Linked DNA regions of Homo sapiens: regions 1, 2, 3, 4 and 5 are each linked to region 6. Evidence: promoter capture Hi-C in 16 types of primary human blood cells and fetal thymus (Javierre and others, 2016). All regions are on one chromosome and are shown on one strand. The core of a region is centred on a gene start or on the middle of the fragment in contact, and the rest is flanking DNA. Distances in the headings are between cores, read along the strand shown. Region 1 has its middle 13 kb from the start of VWA5A. Region 2 has its middle 5.9 kb from the start of ROBO3. Region 3 overlaps LOC105369545 (a long non-coding RNA gene). Region 4 overlaps MSANTD2-AS1 (MSANTD2 antisense RNA 1). Region 5 has its middle 20 kb from the start of OR10G7. Region 6 holds the start of OR8B4 (olfactory receptor family 8 subfamily B member 4).

The links. Contacts are between HindIII fragments. The CHiCAGO score rates a contact against its expected background, and 5 or more counts as called.
Region 1: a contact is called between a fragment that was not itself captured here and the fragment with the promoter of OR8B4 in region 6, in 1 of 17 cell types (total B cells). The highest score is 5.7, in total B cells.
Region 2: a contact is called between a fragment that was not itself captured here and the fragment with the promoter of OR8B4 in region 6, in 1 of 17 cell types (megakaryocytes). The highest score is 5.1, in megakaryocytes.
Region 3: a fragment that was not itself captured here is called in contact with the fragment with the promoter of OR8B4 in region 6 in 1 of 17 cell types (total B cells); the score reaches 5.4 in total B cells.
Region 4: a fragment that was not itself captured here is called in contact with the fragment with the promoter of OR8B4 in region 6 in 3 of 17 cell types (megakaryocytes, erythroblasts and M2 macrophages); the score reaches 7.5 in megakaryocytes.
Region 5: a fragment that was not itself captured here is called in contact with the fragment with the promoter of OR8B4 in region 6 in 1 of 17 cell types (erythroblasts); the score reaches 5.5 in erythroblasts.

Annotation. Positions count from the first base shown.
Region 1 is chr11:124,100,360-124,103,919 of GRCh38, reverse strand. No RefSeq gene overlaps it. Among named protein-coding and RNA genes, the nearest start is that of VWA5A, 13 kb to the left of the region's middle. The HindIII fragment of the contact is 1,717 bases long and covers 1,444-3,160 here.
Region 2 is chr11:124,857,641-124,861,402 of GRCh38, reverse strand. No RefSeq gene overlaps it. Among named protein-coding and RNA genes, the nearest start is that of ROBO3, 5.9 kb to the left of the region's middle. The HindIII fragment of the contact is 1,197 bases long and covers 1,758-2,954 here.
Region 3 is chr11:124,080,795-124,084,629 of GRCh38, reverse strand. LOC105369545 (a long non-coding RNA gene) reads left to right here. Exons shown (of 2, transcript XR_948127.3): 2 at 1,990-2,273. Among named protein-coding and RNA genes, the nearest start is that of VWA5A, 33 kb to the left of the region's middle. The HindIII fragment of the contact is 398 bases long and covers 2,206-2,603 here.
Region 4 is chr11:124,833,302-124,836,734 of GRCh38, reverse strand. It overlaps MSANTD2-AS1 (MSANTD2 antisense RNA 1), which reads right to left. Exons shown (of 5, transcript NR_103862.1): 5 at 2,248-3,433. Among named protein-coding and RNA genes, the nearest start is that of ROBO3, 30 kb to the left of the region's middle. The HindIII fragment of the contact is 2,473 bases long and covers 384-2,856 here.
Region 5 is chr11:124,059,705-124,063,178 of GRCh38, reverse strand. No RefSeq gene overlaps it. Among named protein-coding and RNA genes, the nearest start is that of OR10G7, 20 kb to the right of the region's middle. The HindIII fragment of the contact is 6,328 bases long and covers 1-3,474 here.
Region 6 is chr11:124,422,996-124,426,630 of GRCh38, reverse strand. OR8B4 (olfactory receptor family 8 subfamily B member 4) reads left to right here and starts at 1,760. Exons shown (of 1, transcript NM_001005196.1): 1 at 1,760-2,689. The coding sequence starts at 1,760. The coding sequence ends at 2,689. The HindIII fragment of the contact is 2,701 bases long and covers 598-3,298 here.

The sequences.
Region 1 (3,560 bases), core at 1,053-3,552, 320 kb after region 6:
AGTTATGCTAAAGCCAGCCCTAGACACAAGCCCTCTTAAGTCCTACTGTGTCATGGTTTTCCTACTGCATCACACTGCCAATATGTCAAAATACTCTTTAGTGTAAACGCAGGGGGAAAGTCTTTCCATCCAGTGTTGTTGAAGACAAGATGGTCTAATTATGGGGCTTAATTGGCATGCTCATTTGATTCTCCCAGCAAGTTACTTTTTGTAACTTAACTTCCAACAAGACTGGAGTTGATAACTGTTTCTCGACTTTCTCAGAATCTAAAGTGAAAGAAATGGTACTATTAATTGGGGATCCCACAGACACGCCAGCTCCTAGTTTCCATGACATTTTAGTTATTTGTAGTTTTTCTATTCCATTTATAGTCCCCAAAGTTCCCTTCGTATTTGAAACCAGTAAACAAAAACAAGTAAAAATCTCTAATAAAAATGCTTACTTTACAAATAGCATGAAGCAAAAAGGATAAAATGAAGCTCCTTCAAGCATAGTTAAACGGTTTTATTGCAATAGGAGGATTCTATGGCTCCTCCTAACTTGATTGGCAAAAATCCAAGATGTCATAGCATCTTATTCCCACACTTTGGAGATGCCTATCAGAGATGATATGCTGGATTCAAATAACCCTAGTGTTAGTTTGCTGTTCTACTAGTGCAGGGTATTTGTAGAAGAATCTACATGTCATGATATCTGGTAAAGCCTGAATAGTGTTTAGGGACAGATGTTCAACACACTGATACTTCTATAACAGATTTCTTTTCTAGACAATGGAAAGTTTCATAAAAGTAGGGATTATGTGTGTCTTGCTCACCATTGTATCCATAGGACATAGCCCAGTGACATAGTAAGCTTCCAGTGTAGGTTTGCTGAATGAATGAATGGATAGCTCTTTACCCATTCAAATTGTGATGCAATTGTATATTTATCGATACAGAGGAACGTGTGCGAAATAATTAAGATACAGAATAATATTATGTCTGAATTTAAATATATATTCATGTTTAGGTAAAACTGATGATATATAAAAAACAAAATCTGAATGACCAACTTTTTGGCTTTTTCTAAATTAGTCTTGCAATGACTGGCACTGAAAAGAGAAACTTTAACCATTTAAATCTTTCCTATATCTAAAAGCACACAACATGAGATTTTATTTAAAACACATGTGCACACATACATAAACACACACAGACACACATATTCACTTTTTAAAATCTTACCTCATTAACAACAACAGCAACAAAAGCAAATAACCTGATTGAAAAATGGGTAAGGGACTTAAATAGACATTTATCCAAAGAAGAGACACAAATGGCAAATAAGTATATGGAAAGATGTTCAATATCACTGAGCATTGAGGAAATGCAAATTAAAACCACAATGACATATCACTTCAATAAGGATGGCTACTATTTTAAAAATTACAATAGTAATAAGCTTGGGCTATGATGTGATAAATTGGAACCCTTGTACACTAATGACGAGAATGTAAAATGGTGCAGATGATATGGAAAACAGTATTGTATTTTCTTAAAAAAGTAAAAACAGAATTACCATATGATCCAGCAATTCCAGCTCTTGCTATACATACAAAAGAAATAAAAGCAGGGTCTTGAAGATACATTTGTACACCCACGTTCCTAGCAGCATTAATCACAATAGGCAAGAGTCGAAAGCAACCCAGTATTCATTCAATGAATGGATACACTAAATGTGGTATATACACACAACAAAACATTATCCAGACTTAAAAAGAAAGGAAGTTCTGACACATGCCACAACATGGATAAGCCTCAAGGACATTATGCTAAGTGAAATAAGCCAGTCACAAAAAGACTGTTTAAATCCAGTAACATGAGGTACCTAGGGTAGTCACATTCATGGAAAAAGAAATTAGAATGCTGGTTCCCAGGAGCCACAGATGTTGGAAGGAAATGGAGAAGTTGTTTAATGGTAATAGAGTTTCAGTTCTGCAAGATGAAAAAGTCCAGGAGATTAGTTGAGCAACAATGTAGATAGTCAAGCAACAATGTAAATAAACTTAGCACTACTGTACTATATATTTCAAAATGGTTAAGATGTTAAATTTTATGCTTTGTGTATTTTACCACAATTTTCTTTTTCTGAGACAGAATCTTGCTCTGTTACCGAGGCTGGAGTGCAGTGGTGCAATCATGGTTCACTATAGCCTGGACCTCCCCACTCAAGAGATCCTCCCACCTCAGCCTCCAGAGCATCTGGGACTATAGGTGTGCACCCCACATCCAGACAATTTTTGAAATTTCTTTTAGAGATGAGATCTCATTATGTTGCCCCCAGGCTGGTCTCAAACTCCTGGGCTAAAGTGATCCTCTCATATTGGCCTTTCAAAGTACTGGGCTTACAGATGTGAGCCACCACACCTGGCCTACATTTTTTTTAAAGTTTGCTTATGCAGTTTTCGCACATTCTGTGGCTTATTAGTTATCTCCTTTTTCCTGTAACTACGTCTACTGTAGTTGAACCCTCTCAAATCACTATTTCTTTATTTTTTATACCTCCATTTGGTGTGGGCAGAGAAAGAGTTTGAGAAGTGTAGTCTAAGGTAGCTTTTCAGAAGATCTGCCTAGAGTAATAAGTTACCATTCATTGAGTCCTTATTCCTCACCAGGCACTGCGTAATTGCTTTTTATATATTATCTAATGTAATTTACCTATGAGTTCTATGAGATCATTTTACAGAAGATGAAATGAGATTTAGGGATGTTAGGTAATTTTCTTTAAGCCACACAATTAGTTTGTGGATGTAGATGGGAATCTGTCTCAGATCTTCATGCAGCTATGCACAATACAGCAAATTTGATGAAACTTTAGAAATAAACATTTGGCCTTCCACACCCCCCTCAAAAAAAAACTTACCCCAACTTCTTTTTTTCCTTTCAATCTCTCAGATGCGTGAAAGCTCATCTGAGAGAAAACTCATTTGTAATAAAATATTCGAATCCCACAGAGTGGGGTACGATTATGCTCATTCTTATCTTGTTACTATCCTCTGTTGGTTCTAATCCTCTGGGTATTCCCAGAAGATACCGTGTGGGGCTTTACCTGATAATTAGAGTTAAAACATGGTTTGTAGTGCACATTCAGGTATAGAAACGTAAGGCAGAAAATGAAGCTTTGTTCTGACATTGTCACACGAGGCTAAAGCAGGGCCTTAACCCACACACATTCCCCGCAGCATTTCTCTGCCCTAGTGATTATCTTTCCTCTTTTTTTCCTGACCAAATATCTCAAAATTCTATAGCCCAGTGATCTTCCTTATTTGTCTCCCTGAAGGTGCTCTTGCGCCCTACAACTGCTCTCCTGACTGTAGCTAGAATTATCTTTCACATTCTCTCTTCCACAATGTGCCGAAACTCAATGCTGCTTAAAACTGTCTTACATTTTCTTAAGCCCCCTAATGTAGAGATCGCAATCTTTAAAGAGCAGAGCCTTTAGTCATCATTTGCTTTTCTGCCTCTCAAGTTTTATCTCAATTTTTTTCCTCTCTTTCCTCAAGTTCTTCAAATATACTTTA
Region 2 (3,762 bases), core at 1,107-3,606, 430 kb before region 6:
CAAAGAGCAGGCACCCAGCTGGAAAGCAGACAGCAGGAGCCTGCCCCCGGCAGGAGCCAGAGTGTGTTGGCTCAACCCCTATAGCTGCTGAGATAATAAGCCAAGGCCCCCTGCATGAAAGTCCCCCTTTCCCCACAGGGTTCCAGTGGAGGAGACTGTGGGGAGACACTTTGCAACACACTCTACCAAGACTGGAAATCTGGAGACAACTGGGCAGAAATGTTCACATCCCAATACAGATAAAACAAAGTCCAGGGAGAAAAAGAGCTTTCTTGGTTCTTTTTATAAAACTAGATACAGAGCAAGCTTCCATAAATATACACTTGGTGACTATACCTGATTAAATAGTTAGTCCTCACAACTACCCCTGCAGAGCCCACTAGCCTTCTCTCTCTCTCCTTTTGCATTACAGCTGCTGTAAGAAAGTACCAAAAACTAGGTGGCCTAAAACAACAGAAATGTATCCTCTCACAGGTTAGAAGCCTGAAATCAAGGTGTCAGCTGGGCCATGCTCTCCCTGAAGGCTCCAGGGAGGGATCTGTTCTTGCCTCCTCCAGCATCTGCTGATTACCAGCAGTGCTTGGCCTTCCTGGTCTTGAGGATTCATCACTCCATCTCTGCCTCTGTCTTCTTATGGCCTTCCCTGGGTGTGTGTCTCGGTGTCTCTTACCTCTTCTTATAAGGCCACCAGTCATTGGATTAGAGTCCAATTTAATCCAGCATGACTTCACCCTAACTAATTACATCTGCAAAAACCCTCATTTTCAAATGAAGTCACATTCTGAAGTTTTGGGTGAGTAGGACTTTTTTAGGGGGGACAACACATTTAACTTAGTATACCTTATTTTCCTGTATTTCCTTCCTCTTCTGCTCTCTCCATATTCCTGATACTCCCCCAGGGCCCTATTATTTGAGTTTTTAAAATATTCTTGTAATGATAATCATAATGCATGTTCAGGCAAACATATTCAAGCAGTATAAGAAAGTGTAAGATGAAAAGTCTAAGTCCTCACTCCATCAAGTCCTTCTTTATCCTACAGATCCAGTTGCCTGGGTAGCTACCCGTGGTTTCTTGTGTGTCCTTTCTGATTCTTTTTAAAAAGCATATATAAGCATATGTATCTCTATTCCTTTTATTTTATTTATTAATATATTTTTTGAGACAAGGTCTCACTCCGTCACCCAGGCTGGAGTGCAGTGGCACAATCTCCACTAACTGCAACCTCCACTTCCCAGGTGCAAGCGATCCTCCCACCTCAGCCTCCCGAATAGCTGGCACCATAGGCGTGCACCACCACACCCGGCTAATTTTTTTAAAATTTTTTTGGTAGACACGGGGTTTTGCCATGTTGCCCAGGCTGGTCTTGAGCTCCTCAGCTCAGACAATCCACCTGCCTTGGCCTCCCAAAGTGCTGAAATTATAGGCACGAGCCACTGTGCCCATCCTCTCTATTCTTTTAAAGTACAAATTAGCCAGGCATAGTGGCACAGGCTTGTAGTTCCAGCTACTTGAGAGGCTGAGGCAGGAGAATCACTTAAGCCCAGGAGTTCAGGACCAGCCTGGGCAACACAGTGAGACCTTTGTCTCAGATTATTTGTACTGTTCTGCAACTTGCCTTTTTTAACCCATCGATATTTTTAGGGCATCTCTTTCTATCAGTTCATGTATCTCCATCTTTTTTACTTTACTGGCTGGCTAATATTCCATTGCATAGGTTTATTGTACATTTGTAATCAGTCCCCTATTTATGGAAGCTTAGGTTGTTTCTGGCTTTTTGTTTTACAAACAATGCTACTAATAAACATACTACACCTATATCTTTACACACATCTCTAGCTGTAGAATAAATTGTAAAAAGTGAAATTATAGAGGCAAATAATAACTAACAACAGCTAATGTTTATTGAGTGGTTTTATTAATTTCTTCATTCAGCAGATGTTCACCAGGTACCCACTGTGGGCCAGACATAGTTCTGGATGTGCAAGCTACCAGGAATGAGAAAAATCTGAGCACTTTGCAGGCATAATCTCATGTAATGCTCATAGGAACGCTGCGAGGTGGGTACTATTATTTCCAGTTTTCAGATAAGAAAATTATGCCTAAGAAAGCACAGCAAGTAAAGTAACTTTACTTAAGTAACTGCTTAAAGTTACATAGCAAGAAGTATGTGCATTTATATATATATATATACATTTTTTTTTGAGGTGGAGTCTCACTCTGTTGCCCAGGCTGCAGTGGCTCAATCTCGACTGACTGCAACCTCTGCCTCCCAGATTCAGGCGATTCTTCTGCTTCAGCCTTTTGAGCAGCTGGGATTACAGGAGTATGCCCTGATGCCCGGCTAATTTTTGTATTTTTAGTAGAGATGGTATTTCACCATGTTGGCCAGGCTGGTCTCAAACTCCTGACCTCAAGTGATCCGCCTCCCTTGGCCTCCCAAAGTGCTGGGATTACAGGCATGAGCCACCGAGCCCGGCCGCATTTAAATTTTCATATATATCATCAAATTGCCCTTCAAATGGTGCCACAATTGACAGTCCCACAGCAGTGTATGAGAGTCTCTGTCTGCTCACCATGACCAAATATTATGTTTTTATTTTTTACAATTAAATAAATGAAATATGTATTTAATTACTGTAACATATATAGTTAATTCTGAGTGAACTTGAGAACATTTTCATCTGTTTAATGGCCACTTACACATTTTTTCCACGATTTGCTCTCTTGTGTCACTGGGGAAAATTTATTATTTGTCTCATGTGTATATGTTGAAAATTCCCCTCAGTTTGTCATATAATTTTTGACTGAAAAATATTTTACCAGATTTTAGAAAACAAAGTCAAATGTATTAATGTATTTCAATATAGCTTTTCAGTTTGTTTCATGCTTAGACTTTCCTTATGCTAAGATTACAAAAATAGAATCTTTACTTTCTTCTAATAATTTCTAAGCTTTGATATTTTGCATACAGATCTTGGATGCATTTAGAATTTATTCTGGTATGAAGAGTAAGGTAAAAATATAGTTGTTTCTTAGATAAGCAGTTGTCCCTGATTCCTTCACTGATCTGCAGAACCACTTCTCCTATATGCTGAATTCCTATTCATATTCCTAAATGTGAATAGGAATCTGTTCTGTTAGTTCATCTGCATGTTATTCCCCGTGACTGTACTTAACTGTTCAATTATTATAGCTCTGTAACATAGTTTACTATCTGATAGTTTCCCTTCATTACTCTTAATGTTTAGATGTTCTTTGGCTAGTCTTATTTTTTTTTCAGATGTCCTTAATTATTTTTCTATTAAGCTTTAGGTCCTTTGAGCTGGAGCTGCAAGGTAAAATTTTAATAATAATAATAATAAGCAAAGCTATAGGAAATATATATATATATAAAAAATATGTATATATATATATATATATATATATATATATTTTTTTTTTTTTTTTTTTTTTTTTTGAGACAGAGTCTTGCTCTGTCACCAGGCTGGAGTGCAGTGGCCCAATCTTGGCTCACTGCAAATTCCACCTCCCGGGCTCAAGCAATTCTCCTGCCTCAGCCTCCCGAGTAGCTGGGATTATAGGTGCCTGCCATGACAGCCGGCTAATTTTTGTATTTTTAGTAGACACAGAGTTTCACCATGTTGGCTGGGCTGGTCTCAAACTTCCAACCTCAGGTGATTCTCCCACCTTGGTCTCCCAAAATGCTGGAATTACAGGCATGAGCCACCATGCTGGCCTATTTTTGATATTTTTATTGAGTT
Region 3 (3,835 bases), core at 1,155-3,654, 340 kb after region 6:
TCCTTTCCAATGTATTTCTTTTATTTTTAATTGACAAATAGTAATCCTACATACTTCTGGGATACAATGCGATATTACAATATAGGTAGACACTGTGGAAAAGTAAAGCAAGCTAATTAACATATTTATCACCTCACATAATTATCCATTTCTTTGTGGTAAGAAAGTTTAAAATCCACTCTTTTAGTGAATTTGACATATGTTATAATTAACTATAGTCACCATGTCACTCCATTACGAAAATTTATTCCTCTTATCTAACTGAAAAGTTGTATCCTTTAACCAACGCCTCTCCTTTCTCCATCCACCTTCCCCATCCCCAGCCCCATCACTCCAGCCCCAGTAACCAGTATTCTAAGCTCTACTTCATGAGTTTGGCTTTTTTGGATTCCATTTATAAGTGAGATCTAGGACTATTTGTCTTTTTGTGCTTGGCTTATTTTACTTAGCATAATGTCCCTCAGGTTCATCCATGTTGTTGCAAAGGACAGGATTTCCCCCCTTTTTGAGGCTGAGTAGTATTCCATTGTGTACATATACCACATTTTCTTTATCTATTCATCCATTGATGGATACTTAGTTTGTTTCTATATCTTGGCTATTGTGAATGATGCTGCAATGCATGTGAGCATGCAGATATCTCTTCAACATACCGATTTCAGTTCCGTTGGATACATACCCAGAAGTAGAATTGCAGGATCATGTGGTAACTCTATTTTTCCCATAATGGCTGCATGAATTTACATTCCCACCAGTAGTGCAGTATGCAAGTGTTCCCTCTTCTCCACATCTTTGCTAACACTGGTTACATTTCATCTTTTTTATGATAGCCATTCTAATCTGTTGATGCTCCTATATGATGAGGTGAGTTTAGAGGTAGGAAAAATGTGTCTTCTCCCTATGCATTTTTCTTCATCTCATGAAAGAGTCTGCAGTTTTAATAAAATCAGATCAGCACAGAGGTCAGCATGATATGTAGAGGGAGACAGAAGCTAAGGGTGGGAGAATAGGGAAGAGCGTGATTTGCTGGTTTTATGAAGATTTATAAGGTGAAAACATATGGAAAAAATAATGACTCTATTCAAAGAGTTTCCTCTGGGAAGGGTGCTAATGAGGATTATCTGAAATTAGAAAGCTCAATTTAGAGACAGATATATAAAAAAAAAAGAATGCCTGCCAATCCAAGTTATAAATTAGCAACAGTTTTTTATGGCTTTTCTGCTTGTTGTACATAAAGGCTATTTGTTTAGAAAGATTTTTACCTTAAGCAAAATATTCCTTTCATTGATATCTTGTGTCGATTCTTCTTTAAAATGAGAAATCACACAGTGATGTCTGAGTTTGTTACTGTGAATGGCTGAGGGCTGGAGATTGTATTTCATTATCCTGATTATATCTTATAAATTTTGTACCCTTTTGGGAAATGTTATATTCAGGACCCTTGTTTGTTCCTTGGGATTTCACACATCATGCATGTATTTTTTTCCTTGAAAAATATCATTGTGATTGGCATGAGTTTGTCTTCAATTATTGCTTTACCTTCAACGCAGAAATGAGCCATCAATGTTCAGGGTGCTGCTGTCCATGTTTTCTCCTTTCCTTGCCTGTACTGCCCCGAGATCTTCTTGCATTCACTGACACAGTGCCACCCTTTTATTGCCATTGGATATCCACTGCAAGGTATGCACACCATTACACACAAACTGTATATACTGCTCACCACAGGGCCCTGGAGAGGCTGCTAGCTACATGTCAATCTCCTGATGCTATATTAGGCAGCTACCCTAATCCTGTGCCAACGAAGTTATGGCTGTCATTCCCATCACATTCCTGAAGTCAAACTGTGACCTATGCAAGCATATACTAAGCCCTATGCCGGTCTCTCTCTCTGTCTCTCTCTTAGTCTCTCTCTCTCTTTCTCTCTCTTTTCCATTATTTCCATATCTTATATCTGCAATGAAATTGACATACCAAAAATTATCTCTGCAGACAGTGTGCATGGAGCTTTCTCAACCTGCCTTGCTCACCTCTTTGCTTTCTCAACCTGCATTGCTCAACCTGCAGTCTGCAACTCTTTGTGGCCATGGACAGAAGCTCAGACCGAGAGCTCTCTGCGATTCTGTGATTCAGAGACCGAACTTGTGTGTGACCATCTCCTTGAACTCCTTGATTTCTAGCCTGAGAAATGAAAGTGTGAAACAAGCTTCACATAAAATATTTAAAGAACAAACTTTATTCATGAAAATAAATGAGAAGATGATGAACTTCTAAAGGAATTTTGAATATTCTTTTCTTAGCAGCTTTCAAAAAAACTTCGCATTAAATAGTACTGTGTCTTTAACTTCATTCCTAAACCCTGTATCTTAGTATGAAAATTTGCTAGTACCCATGCTTTTAAAGTAAATATAGCTTATGCGCATAGCAGATATTAAATTGCTATTTATCATTGGATTTGCCTGCAAAGTAAACAATTTTTGGTCCTTTTCTGATTTCTACGGAAGAAGCCTTGGAAGAGAACCTATATCACTGCAAAAACATCCACTAAAAATCATAATCTCCCTTACGTCAGAACACTGAATCTAAACATTTTTTAGAAGAAAGCTTACTCAAAATTAAACATTTTTCAATTTCTGTACATGAATAAAAATTAAGAAGATTTTCTGCATAAGGCAGGATTCCTTTTTTGGAATAAAGCTAAGCTATATAGAGAAAAATTCACCTCAATTATCATAATGATATTGCATCTCTTTGTGTTCATATGGTGAGAATTATCTTAGATTATCTTTGATCCAGCTTTTTTTTTCTATTCGTAAGAGGAAAATTCAAGGAATGTTGTTTAAATAAAATATTGGTTTTTTTTCTAATGCATGCTGACTTCTGTTACTGAACTGCTGGCCTGAGGATTTCATCAAAATGTTAAAGCATCCAGTAGGAGGCAATTGAAAAGTGTGTGACTCACTCTTAAGCCTATTGCTTATTTTTATGTACAATAAGGAGGCAGAATTGAAAGGGAGAATGTAGAAAAGAAATTGATAGTGCTCTGCCCAATAAGGCGAGACACTAATTCCATGGTGAGAGAGGCAATCTTGCAAATTATCACGGCTTAAACTATATGTTTCTTCTCATCAACACAGGCTTTACTGATTCTGAAAAATTAATGTTTTCCCATGGGAGATTTGTAAGGCTAAGCAGGTGGCTCATAGGTAGCAAAGAGGAATATTGAAACAAACTGGTGGAAGTCAGTGCTGCTGGATGTAGCGTGATGAAGGTCAGGGTGAAATTCAGTCTCATGGGTAGGGATTAGGCTTTCTAGAAATTTGATTACTAGTTATAGAAACGGGTTAGAAGAAGAATTTTCAGAACGATGTGGGCATGAAGGGAATGAAGCAAGATTAAACACTGGGCATATCTGATTCTGCGAAGGGTTTAACATCTTGGGTGAATTTTTCATGAAAAAACGAATATTGCAGTGTTTATTTTATAGAATTCTCTGTATCACACCTATTAAAACATCTGGTATATATTCACAACCCATGGGTGATATTGTGAAGGATGAAGAAAAATAAACATGAGGGGGAAGTGCGGTCCGTTTCACTGAAGGGAGAGGCCTCATCAGCTGGACTGTCAAACTCATCTACGGACCCAGAGATGTCCAAATGGATCACACTACCTAGATGAAGAACCTGCTCAACTGATCATAAATGAGGCATATTTTAAAGGTTGCCAAGTTCTGTGCAATGTTCTGAGGATACTGAGAGCAACAGAACCTGGTTGTTGAGATTCCTTACCATATGATGTAACTCATGTGATGGGCTGCAGTGAAACAGAGCAGGTC
Region 4 (3,433 bases), core at 371-2,870, 410 kb before region 6:
GAGACCCCGTCTCAAAAAAAAAAAAAAAAAAAAAGAAAATATCTTTGTAACTGCCGCCAATGTACTTGAGTAATCCCTTGAGCTTCCTGATCCGTGAGGAAGGGCTCGCTGATACTTTTTTTTCCTTCTGGAAAGAGGGAAAACATATGGATGTAACAAAATGGGTTACTTAAGAAAAATGTAAGCGATCTAACTTCTAACCAGAGGTTTCTGCCAGGGCATAAACACATGGCAGCCCTAAACAGCTTTGCAGGCACATGGCTTCCTTCACTTCCAGCCCGTCTGGCAGGCACCCTCTTAATTCCTACCAACTTAATTCCTACCACCCGAGTTCTTTGTTCTGTCGCCCATATTGAAGTTTCCTCAAACTAAAAATGAAAGCTTTATTATAATTCTGGAATCTACTCAGGGCCTTCTTAACTAAATTCTAACTTGCAGTATACGGACATGTAGTTGATCTCTCCTTTATCCCAAATGATCTTGACCCTCAGATCATAGTCAACGTATAAATTAAATTCAACCTAAATTATATAACTATAGCAAGGGTTACACACACACAGCAAGAATGCAGGACGGGCGCGGTGGCTCATGACTGTAATCTCAGCACTTTGGGAGGTCAAGGTTGGCGGATCACCTTAGATCAAGAGTTCAAGACCAGCCTGGCCAACATGGCAAAACTCCATCACTACTAAAAATATAAAACTTAGCCAGGTGTGGTGGCGTGTGCCTGTAGCCCCAGTTCTCAAGAGGCTGAGACACGAGAATCTGCTTGGGAACCTGGGAACCTTGAACCTGGAAGGCTGAGATTGTAGTGAGCCAAGACTGCACCACTGCACTCCAGCCTGGGCAACAGAGCGAGACTCTGTCTAGAAAAAATAATAATTATATATATATATATATCTTACAGGAGGGGTCAATGAATGTTTTGGGAGAAGGGCAGTGAAGATTTCTGTTCTACACACCTTTCTCATCTCAGGGCTATATTACAGCAGATTCTGACAGTATAGTAGCTTTCTTCACAATGTCAAGATCAGAGCAGATCTATACCTTACATAGAAGACAGAAAATTGACTATACCAACATCAGGTCCTCCAGCATAGGTGGGACATTACCTTTTCAGCCTGCAGGGCTTAGTACTTCTTTCAGCTGATCGGCTTCAGGCCTCTTCCTCATTTTGGAAAGGGCAAATCTCAGGTGCACACTGAAAATCTTAGACTAAGTAGCCTGGTACAGTGGCTCACGCCTGTAATCCCAGCACTTTGGGAGGCCGAGGAGGGTGGATCACGAGGTCAAGAGATCGAGAACATCCTGGCCAACATGGTGAAACCCTGTCTCTACTAAAAATACAAAAATTAGCCAGGCGTGGTGACATGCACCTGTACTCCCAGCTATTCGGGAGGCTGAGGCAGGAGAATCGCTTGAACCCAGGAGGCGGAAGCTGCAGTGAGCCAAGATCATGCCACTGCACTCCAGCCTGACGGCAGAGCCAGACTCCGTCTCACAAAAAAAAAAAAAGAAAATCTTAGACTAAGTAAAACCCTCCAGCCCAGAGTGCTTCTCTGCATTGGGCAATTCACTCTCACTGCCAGAGCTCCCTTATACACTTTAAATGCTTATAAATACACTAACAGACAGAGCCTATGGGAAACAATATAAGAGGATTGGATAGTAAGTATTTGGTTTTTTCTATGTAGTTTGTTAACAGAATCAGTCAAAATATATTTATGGAATGCCCACAGGCTACATAGCATGGTACTTCACCCTTCATTGAAAATCCATTAAAACAATTACTGGGTCATGCCTGGAAACTTTTTTCACAAAGGAATTTTCTTTAGTTGCTGGGTTGACAGGAACTAATTTGAGATGCAAAACTAACAACCCCATTTGAACTAGCAAGCCCTTATGTAAACCACTACAAGTGATATGTTTGAATTTATTCGCACCTGTGCCTGTATATATGGACTTAAAAGCTAAAGATATCGTGGTATTAATATGCATATAAGGGAAGGAGAGTTTTAAAAGTTAGTGAATCATCTTCCACTAATGCTTGGTAAATGTTTACCAAGAAGGTTGTGCCCTGGTTATAGGCCGGTAATGACCACCAATAAATAAAACTGTTTTCACCTCTATAACAGTTATGGAATGTCATTCCTTCTTGCCTTTCATACCAGGAAAACTAGGCTGAAGAAAAAAATCACTTCTTTTTAATCAAGGCAAAAACAGACTCACCCAACCAAAAACCAACCCTTGGTATTTGAAATTAGTTTATTAACATAGGGAGATTTCATATTTTTTTATTGTTTTCTCCCACCACTAACTTTAAGACTTTAACAACCTTTATTAGAATACACACACAGCTATATATATATATTTGGTTCTGTCTTCTCTAAATCATTTGTTTAACAAGGAATTTTTTTACTTAAGGCACTGGTATAGAAAATGTACCCCATTTCTTGCATATCTTGCATGTTATGGGGTCTTGTTAAGTGTTTCCAAGTTTGGTGGAATCACCACCATTTCTACCCCTGGTCCATATTTTTAGTTCCAGATCTTCTCTGCAACCACTATCCCAGTCCAAAACCCTCTACTGTATTCGCTGTCTTCTTAGTGCGGAGGAGAAAGAAAGAGCAGGGTTGGGCAGAGGGTCTTATTCTGCCTTAAAAGAAGGTTATACTTTCTGTCAAAGGATAGAACTCTGACTGACTTAACGAAAAATACAGTAGTATAAGTTTAGACCCAAGGTCAGATAGTCCTGGGGCTAAAGCTCAGATCCATCACTTAGCAATTATGTGATTTGCTGCAAGTCACCTAACTTCTCTGAGCCAAGGCTGCCCTTCTCACTTGTAAAGTGAAGCTTAAATAAGATAATACATATGAAAGGCTGGGTGTGGCAGTTGCACCTTAGTCCTTGCACTTTGGGAAGCCAAGGCCTGTGGAGCCCTTGAGCTCAGGAGTTCAAGATCAGCCTAAGCAACATGGCAGTAAGCTGTCTCTACAAAAAATACAAAAATATGCTGGCTGTGGTGGCATGTGCCTGTATTCCTAGCTACTTGGGAGGCTGAGGTCAGGAGTTCAAGACTAGCCTGAGCAACATAGTAACAACCCGTCTCTACAAAAAATACAAATATGCTGGTCATGGTAGTGCATGCCTGTAATCCCAGCTATTCAGGAGGCTGAGGTGGGAGGATCGCTTAAGCCCTGCAGATTGAGGCTACAGTGAGCTGTGTTAGTGCCACTGCACTCCAGCCTGGGAGATAGAGTGAGACCCTGTCTCAAAAAGAAAAAAAAAATGCACATGAAATGCTTAATGTCTGCCCTACTACAATGCATCAGAGAATAGAAGTTATTAGTATCTACCGGACCCAAACCTCTGTGAGAATAGAAGCTTGCTTCACTTCTGTTGCTTTGGGCAAAACTTCACCTGTGATCAAGA
Region 5 (3,474 bases), core at 475-2,974, 360 kb after region 6:
TGGAGTTCAAAATACAATAACTTAAATGAAAAATATTAAAGGGACTCAAAAGTAGATTTTAATTGATCAAAGAAAGAATTAGCAAATGTAAAGATAAAGATAAATCAATATAGAGCATGAAGCCAGAAAACAGAGAGAAAAATAATAAAGAGAAATGAACAAAGATTCAGAGAAATGTAAAACACCATTAAGCACACTAATATATGCTTAATGGGAATACCAGAAGCAGCAGAGAGAATGAGAGAGAGAGCATTAAAAGTATCAGTAGAAATAATGACTAAAAACATCCCAAATATATACAATGAAAAGCAACAATCTGCATATCCAGGAAGCTCAATGAACACTAAGTACAATAAGCATGAAGAAATCCAGATAAATCATAGTAGAAATATTAAAATCCAAGCACAGGAAAAAAAATGTGAAAAGCGTCAAGAGAAAAAAGACTCATCACTTACAAAGGTACCCCAATAAAATTAGTTTCTCATAAGAAACAACAGAAGCTGAAAGGAGGGGGAATAATCATTTCAGTGCTCAAAGAAAAAACTAAAAGTCAACCAAACGTCTATGTACAACAAAGCTATCTTCAAAAGTGAAGCTAAAAATATTCTCAGATAAACAAAAATTAAGAGACTTTGTTTCTAGCAGATCCACCCTACAAGAAAGAATGAATTTATTCAGACTGAAAACAAGTGACCCCAGAATGCAATCTGAATTCCCATGGAAAAAAAAAACTGGTAAAGGTAATTATGTAATTATAAAAGATAGTATAAATGCATATTTTCTCCCTTCCTTTAACTGGTTTAAAAGCAGTTGTAAAAAACAATGTGTATAAAAACAAACAAACAAAAAAAAACAATGTGTATGTAATTTAGGGCATATAACATATATAAATGTAATATATTTGCCAATAACAGTAGAAAAGAGGTGGGTGGAAGCAGAGCTGTATTGGGCTAAGATAATTACTCTAGACGGTAATTTGAATCCACAGAAAGAAAGAAAGAAAACCAGAAATAGTAAGTAAGAAGTTTATTATAACAAAAACTATGAATATATACTTGCTTTCCTTTCTTCTCTCAACTTTCTTTAAAAGACATGAAATTGGTGGGGTGAGAGAGCATCACGAAGAATAGTTAATGGATGGTGGGCTTAATACCTGGGTGATGAATTGATCTGTGCAGCAAACCATCATGGCATACATTTACCTACATAACAAACTTGCATATCCTGCACATGTACCCCAGAACGTAAAATAAAAGTTGAAGAAAAAAAAACTCTCCTCCATAAAAGTCAGCCATGATACAGGCATTATACTATAAAAAAGACATGAAATTATATAAAATAATAATTATAGCAATGCATTGTTGAATTATAATATCCATGTATGTAATAGGTATAAGAGTAATAGCACAAAAGAGGAAAAAAGAATAGCATTAGATAGAAGTGATGTTTTTGTATTGCTCTGGGGTTAACTTATTATAAATCTGAAGCTAATTGTGATAAGTTATGATGTAAGATGGGAGGCCCTTGAGATAATGACTCAAACAATACCATAAAAATCATTAAAGAAATTAAAATGCTACATTTGAAGTTAACGTAAAGAAAAAAAGTAAAGGAGAAATAGAGGAAAAAAAGATATAAAATGAGGCATAAAGAAAACAAAAAGTAAAGTGGTAGGTGTAAATCCAACTATATTAATATTAACATTAAATGTAAGTGAATTGACAATTCAATCAAGAGTCAGAGATTGTCAGACTGGACAAAAAATCATGATTCAACTACATATTGCTTACAGGAGACACACTTTAGACTCAAAGATACAAACATAATCAAAGTAAAAGCATAGAAAAATATATAATGTAAACAGCAACCGCAGGAAATCTAAAGTGGCTATACTAATAGACAAAATAGACTTTAAAACAAAAAAAATTACTAGAGCTAAACACAGATACTTTTTAATGATTAAAAAGGTGCCTCTGTCAAGAAGATATAAAATTATAATCATATGCACCGAATGACAGAACTACCAAAATACATGAAGCAAAAATTGACAGAAATGAAGGTGTAAAAAAGACAATTCAGGCCAGGTGTGTTGGCTCACGCCTGTAAATCTGAGCACTTTGGGAGGCTGAGGCAGGCACATCACAAGGTCGGGAGTTCGAGACCAGCCTGGCTAACATGGCGAAACTCCATCTCTACTGAAAATACAAAAATTAGCTGGATGTGGTGGCGGGCGCCTGTAATCCCAGCTACTCTGGAGGCTGAGGCAGGAGAATCATTTGAACCCAGGAGGCAGTGGTTGCAGTGAGCCAAGATTGCATCATTGCACTCCAGACTGGGCAATAGAGCAAGACTCCGTCTTGAAAAAAAAAAAAGGCAATTCAATAATAGCCTATTTTTAATAATGAACAAAATGACAATACAGAAGATCAAGGAAATAAAAGACTTGAACAACATTATAAGTCAACTAGACATAAAAAAAAATCTATAAAAACTCAACCCAACAACATAGAATACAGAGCCTTCTCAAGTTTACATGGAATGCTCTCAGGGATAGACCATATGCAAGTCCATAAAACAAATCTTAATAAGTTTAAAAGGATTGTGATCATACAAACTATGTTCCTCAAACAGAATGAAATAAAATTAGGAACTGATAGTAAAAGGAAACTTGGAAAATTAAGAAATATGTGAAAATCAAACAATAAGGAGTTAAATTAGAAAAAAACACACAACAGACAAAATTTATGTGATGCTGCTAATGTGGTACTTTGAAGGAAGTTCGTATTTTGAATGCCTATCATATGAAGAAAGATCTGAAATCAATAACTTAATTTTCCAGCTCAAAGAAATGAAAAAAGGAGCAAACTATATTAACAGCAAGCTAAATGAAGAAACTAATAAAGGTTAGAGCAGAAATTAATAAAAGAGAATTTTTAAACATAGAGAAAATCAATAAAACTAAAAGTTGATTATTTAAAAGGATCAACAAAACTTACAAGACTTTAGCTAGGTTGACCAATTTAAAAAGAAGAATCAAGTTATTAGAATCAGAAATGGAAAAGGAGACATTACTACCAACCTTACAGAAATAAAAAAGACGCTAAAGGAATAGTAACAGTAACTGTATCAATAGACTAGATAACTTAGATAAAATGGAAAAGTTCTTAAAAAGACACAACCTACCCAAACTGACTCATGAAAAAAGAGACAATCTGAATAGAGCTATAAAAAGTAAAGATATTAAATCAATAATCAAAAATATACCCACAAATAAAAACTCGGGACCACATGGCTTCACTACTAAATTCTACAAACTATTTTAGAAAGAATTTACACCAATTCTTCACAAACTCTTCCAAAAAAAACAGAAGAGGGAAAAACTTTTCTCAACACATTTTTCAAAAGCAGGATAACCCTGATACCAAAAATATCAAATCAAAGGAAAAAAAGAGAAGTCAATATCTCTTATGAATA
Region 6 (3,635 bases), core at 511-3,010:
AAGTCCAGACACTTCTGAGAGTGAAAGGGTATGCTATTAATAATTATACAGAGATAATGAGTGTAAGTCAGGACTGTCCCAGGCGAACTGGGATTATTTTAGGTAGCCTTAGTGAAACTTACAAATGCAGATGCTCCCATGTCTTTGAATTTTTCTTAAAATATTCATCTAGCAGATCATATGGAGAGCAGCTTTGTCATCTGAATAATGGCAGGATTAGACCCTTACATCCATCTCCCATTATACCTTAAGCCTGCATGCCTAGAGAGTAACTCTGTGTAGGGGTGTGTGTGTGTGTGTGTGTGTGTGTGTGTGTGTGTGTGTGTGCTTTCTAGCATATGTGTTGTGATATTTTAATCTCTTCATATATAGTAAAGGCCTGTCTGCGGCCCTTATTAGAGCTGCGAGTAGGTGGTGTTTGTGGTGGAGGTGGTGTGGTTTCTGTTCTGAGCAGCGCATGGTCCAAGAAGCCTTTTATCTGAGGTGCTCTCTGTAGATCTGATCTGACCTTTTCTGAGGGGTCCTACTCTCATAGCTCCCTGTGAAGATTTGGAGATGGTGGCTTAGGTTGGGGCTATTCACTCTTAAATTCAAGCTTAGGCTCTGAGAGTTAATGAGAAAGGAAAAAATGAGTCCCCAAACTCAGCACTGAATAACATGAAATCCCTGGAGTAGAGGGAAAGTTTGAGTGGAACCCCCACTCCCAAGATGCTAGGTAAGCACCGTTATCCAGGCTGTAAACAAAGACAGTGCAATTCCTTCCCTATAGAGACAGATCTTGGAGAAATTCCCAGGGGAAACTGTGTCTAATCAGGTCCCTGAGATCGTCAAGCAGCTTAAATTCCTCTGTGATATGACAGCTGGGGTTCTGGTCAAAATGAGAGTTCCTAGTTTTTTTTCCTGAAGTTGTCAAGACCACCTGGGAAAATCCACAAACAGAAACCATGGTCTATTCCTTGAGCACCTTGGAGCCTGGGGTCTGTAAAAGCTCTGATTCTCAGCACCAAGGGAGTCAAAAGAGGTAATACGCAAGGCTGTGTGCTTTCTGCACAAGCAGCACCATTTTCTCTTTCTGGCTAATGGAAAAAGAGATGGCGTAAGGCCCAGCACTGAGTGGGGCCCGGGAGAAGGAAGGTGAAGGTCCGAATCCTGTCTTTCCTGATGGTCTCTTTGAAACCCACAACCAAGGGCTCTGGGAAGTATGGATCCCGTCTCTGCTCTCAACACTGACCCTGAGGTGAGATGGAATGGAGGGTCTTCGAGGAGGCGGGTGGGATGTAAAGAGCCAGCAGGTAACACTCTTGGCTTTCTCTCCAGATGGAAATCCACTATCTAGTTGGGAGACGGAGGCAGAGAATGGGAGGGCATCCTGGTGACCTTGAGAGCTCTGGTCTCTCAGCTCTTGAGGCAGCGGCCCAGGTTGTACTCTTGGTTCTCAGGGTGTCTTTCTGAGAGTCCCTGGGCAGCCAATTCAGGTGTGTTGTCTCCCTCGTCATCTCTCAAGCAGAGACGGAATTCTTGCTGCCCATGGTAACAGATGCTAGCTTGAATTCATGATCGGCCCAGCAGAGCTGAGATCCTCTCACAGACACGTTGTTAATACCTCAGGGTGGGGAGGTGTGTAGATGAGGGAGGATGGAAGAGAGGGCATCTGCACACTGGCTGGTCCACTAGAGTCTTCTTCCCTTAGCCATGCTTGTGCCTGTCATGACTCTTTGTGTTTTGCCCTCTGCTTCCCCAGACAGCTCGCCAAGAGAGAATGACTCTGAGAAACAGCTCCTCAGTGACTGAGTTTATCCTTGTGGGATTATCAGAACAGCCAGAGCTCCAGCTCCCTCTTTTCCTTCTATTCTTAGGGATCTATGTGTTCACTGTGGTGGGCAACTTGGGCTTGATCACCTTAATTGGGATAAATCCTAGCCTTCACACCCCCATGTACTTTTTCCTCTTCAACTTGTCCTTTATAGATCTCTGTTATTCCTGTGTGTTTACCCCCAAAATGCTGAATGACTTTGTTTCAGAAAGTATCATCTCTTATGTGGGATGTATGACTCAGCTATTTTTCTTCTGTTTCTTTGTCAATTCTGAGTGCTATGTGTTGGTATCAATGGCCTATGATCGCTATGTGGCCATCTGCAACCCCCTGCTCTACATGGTCACCATGTCCCCAAGGGTCTGCTTTCTGCTGATGTTTGGTTCCTATGTGGTAGGGTTTGCTGGGGCCATGGCCCACACTGGAAGCATGCTGCGACTGACCTTCTGTGATTCCAACGTCATTGACCATTATCTGTGTGACGTTCTCCCCCTCTTGCAGCTCTCCTGCACCAGCACCCATGTCAGTGAGCTGGTATTTTTCATTGTTGTTGGAGTAATCACCATGCTATCCAGCATAAGCATCGTCATCTCTTACGCTTTGATACTCTCCAACATCCTCTGTATTCCTTCTGCAGAGGGCAGATCCAAAGCCTTTAGCACATGGGGCTCCCACATAATTGCTGTTGCTCTGTTTTTTGGGTCAGGGACATTCACCTACTTAACAACATCTTTTCCTGGCTCTATGAACCATGGCAGATTTGCCTCAGTCTTTTACACCAATGTGGTTCCCATGCTTAACCCTTCGATCTACAGTTTGAGGAATAAGGATGATAAACTTGCCCTGGGCAAAACCCTGAAGAGAGTGCTCTTCTAATGGGTCTCTTCATATCACTGGCAACCGATTCTCGGTAAGCATGATACTCAAGTGTCTTTCTATTTATAGGCGGAGGAATTTTAATATTTTTCCTCAAAGAGGGTCTCCTCTCCACTTTTAAAAATTGGAAATCTCTTTCCTATACTCTCCTTGAGGACTATATTATTTTGCAACAATTAAATTGGCTCACTGCCTGCAAGTTAGTGTCTATGAAATGCCTTTTGTTTACTGAACTCTGTATTAGGCCCAAGAGATGAGTAAGATGAGGCTCCATGCCTTCCATTCTTTTCTTGGTAGGCTAAATGGGTTTTTCTGAGCAAGAACGTTTCTGGCTGGAACAAGGGGCAGGTGGTGGTATAAAGGTTGAGGAGTGTTTTCTCTTTAGTTACATAAGCAGACTTATTAAAGATCAATGGTAGATACCTTGGTGCCAGTGCTAATATGATTATATATCCAGCTCTTCAGGAGGTTGCTTGGTCAGGAAGATCATAAACCCTCCTTTTCATATACATGTATGTACATAAAAGAAGCCCTCACACAAGAATTTTCTATGATCTGCTCTGTAAGGATAAATCAAATCCAAATCTTTTATTTCAAAGTTCTAAAGCTTCTGGGCCTTGGAATGGTAATCAGGGGTAAGTGATCCTGTGTAATTGGGCCAATTTCTTAGGCTCCGGAGACTCAGGCTGGAAGAAGAAACAAGGAAGAACTCCACGGATTTGCATGATCTGTAAAATGTGGCCTCTGCCTTGCTCTGGAGATACTAAGCACACTACTGGATTTTAGGAAGATTGCTTATTCTTTAAAGTGGATTTAGATTTTACAGTTCTGACAACGTGTGTGCATGTTTATATGTGTGTGTGTGTGTGTGTGTGTGTGTCTGTATGTGTATTACAGTTAATCAATATAGAATCGGAAAGAAAGAGGAGTCATATTACACGTCCCA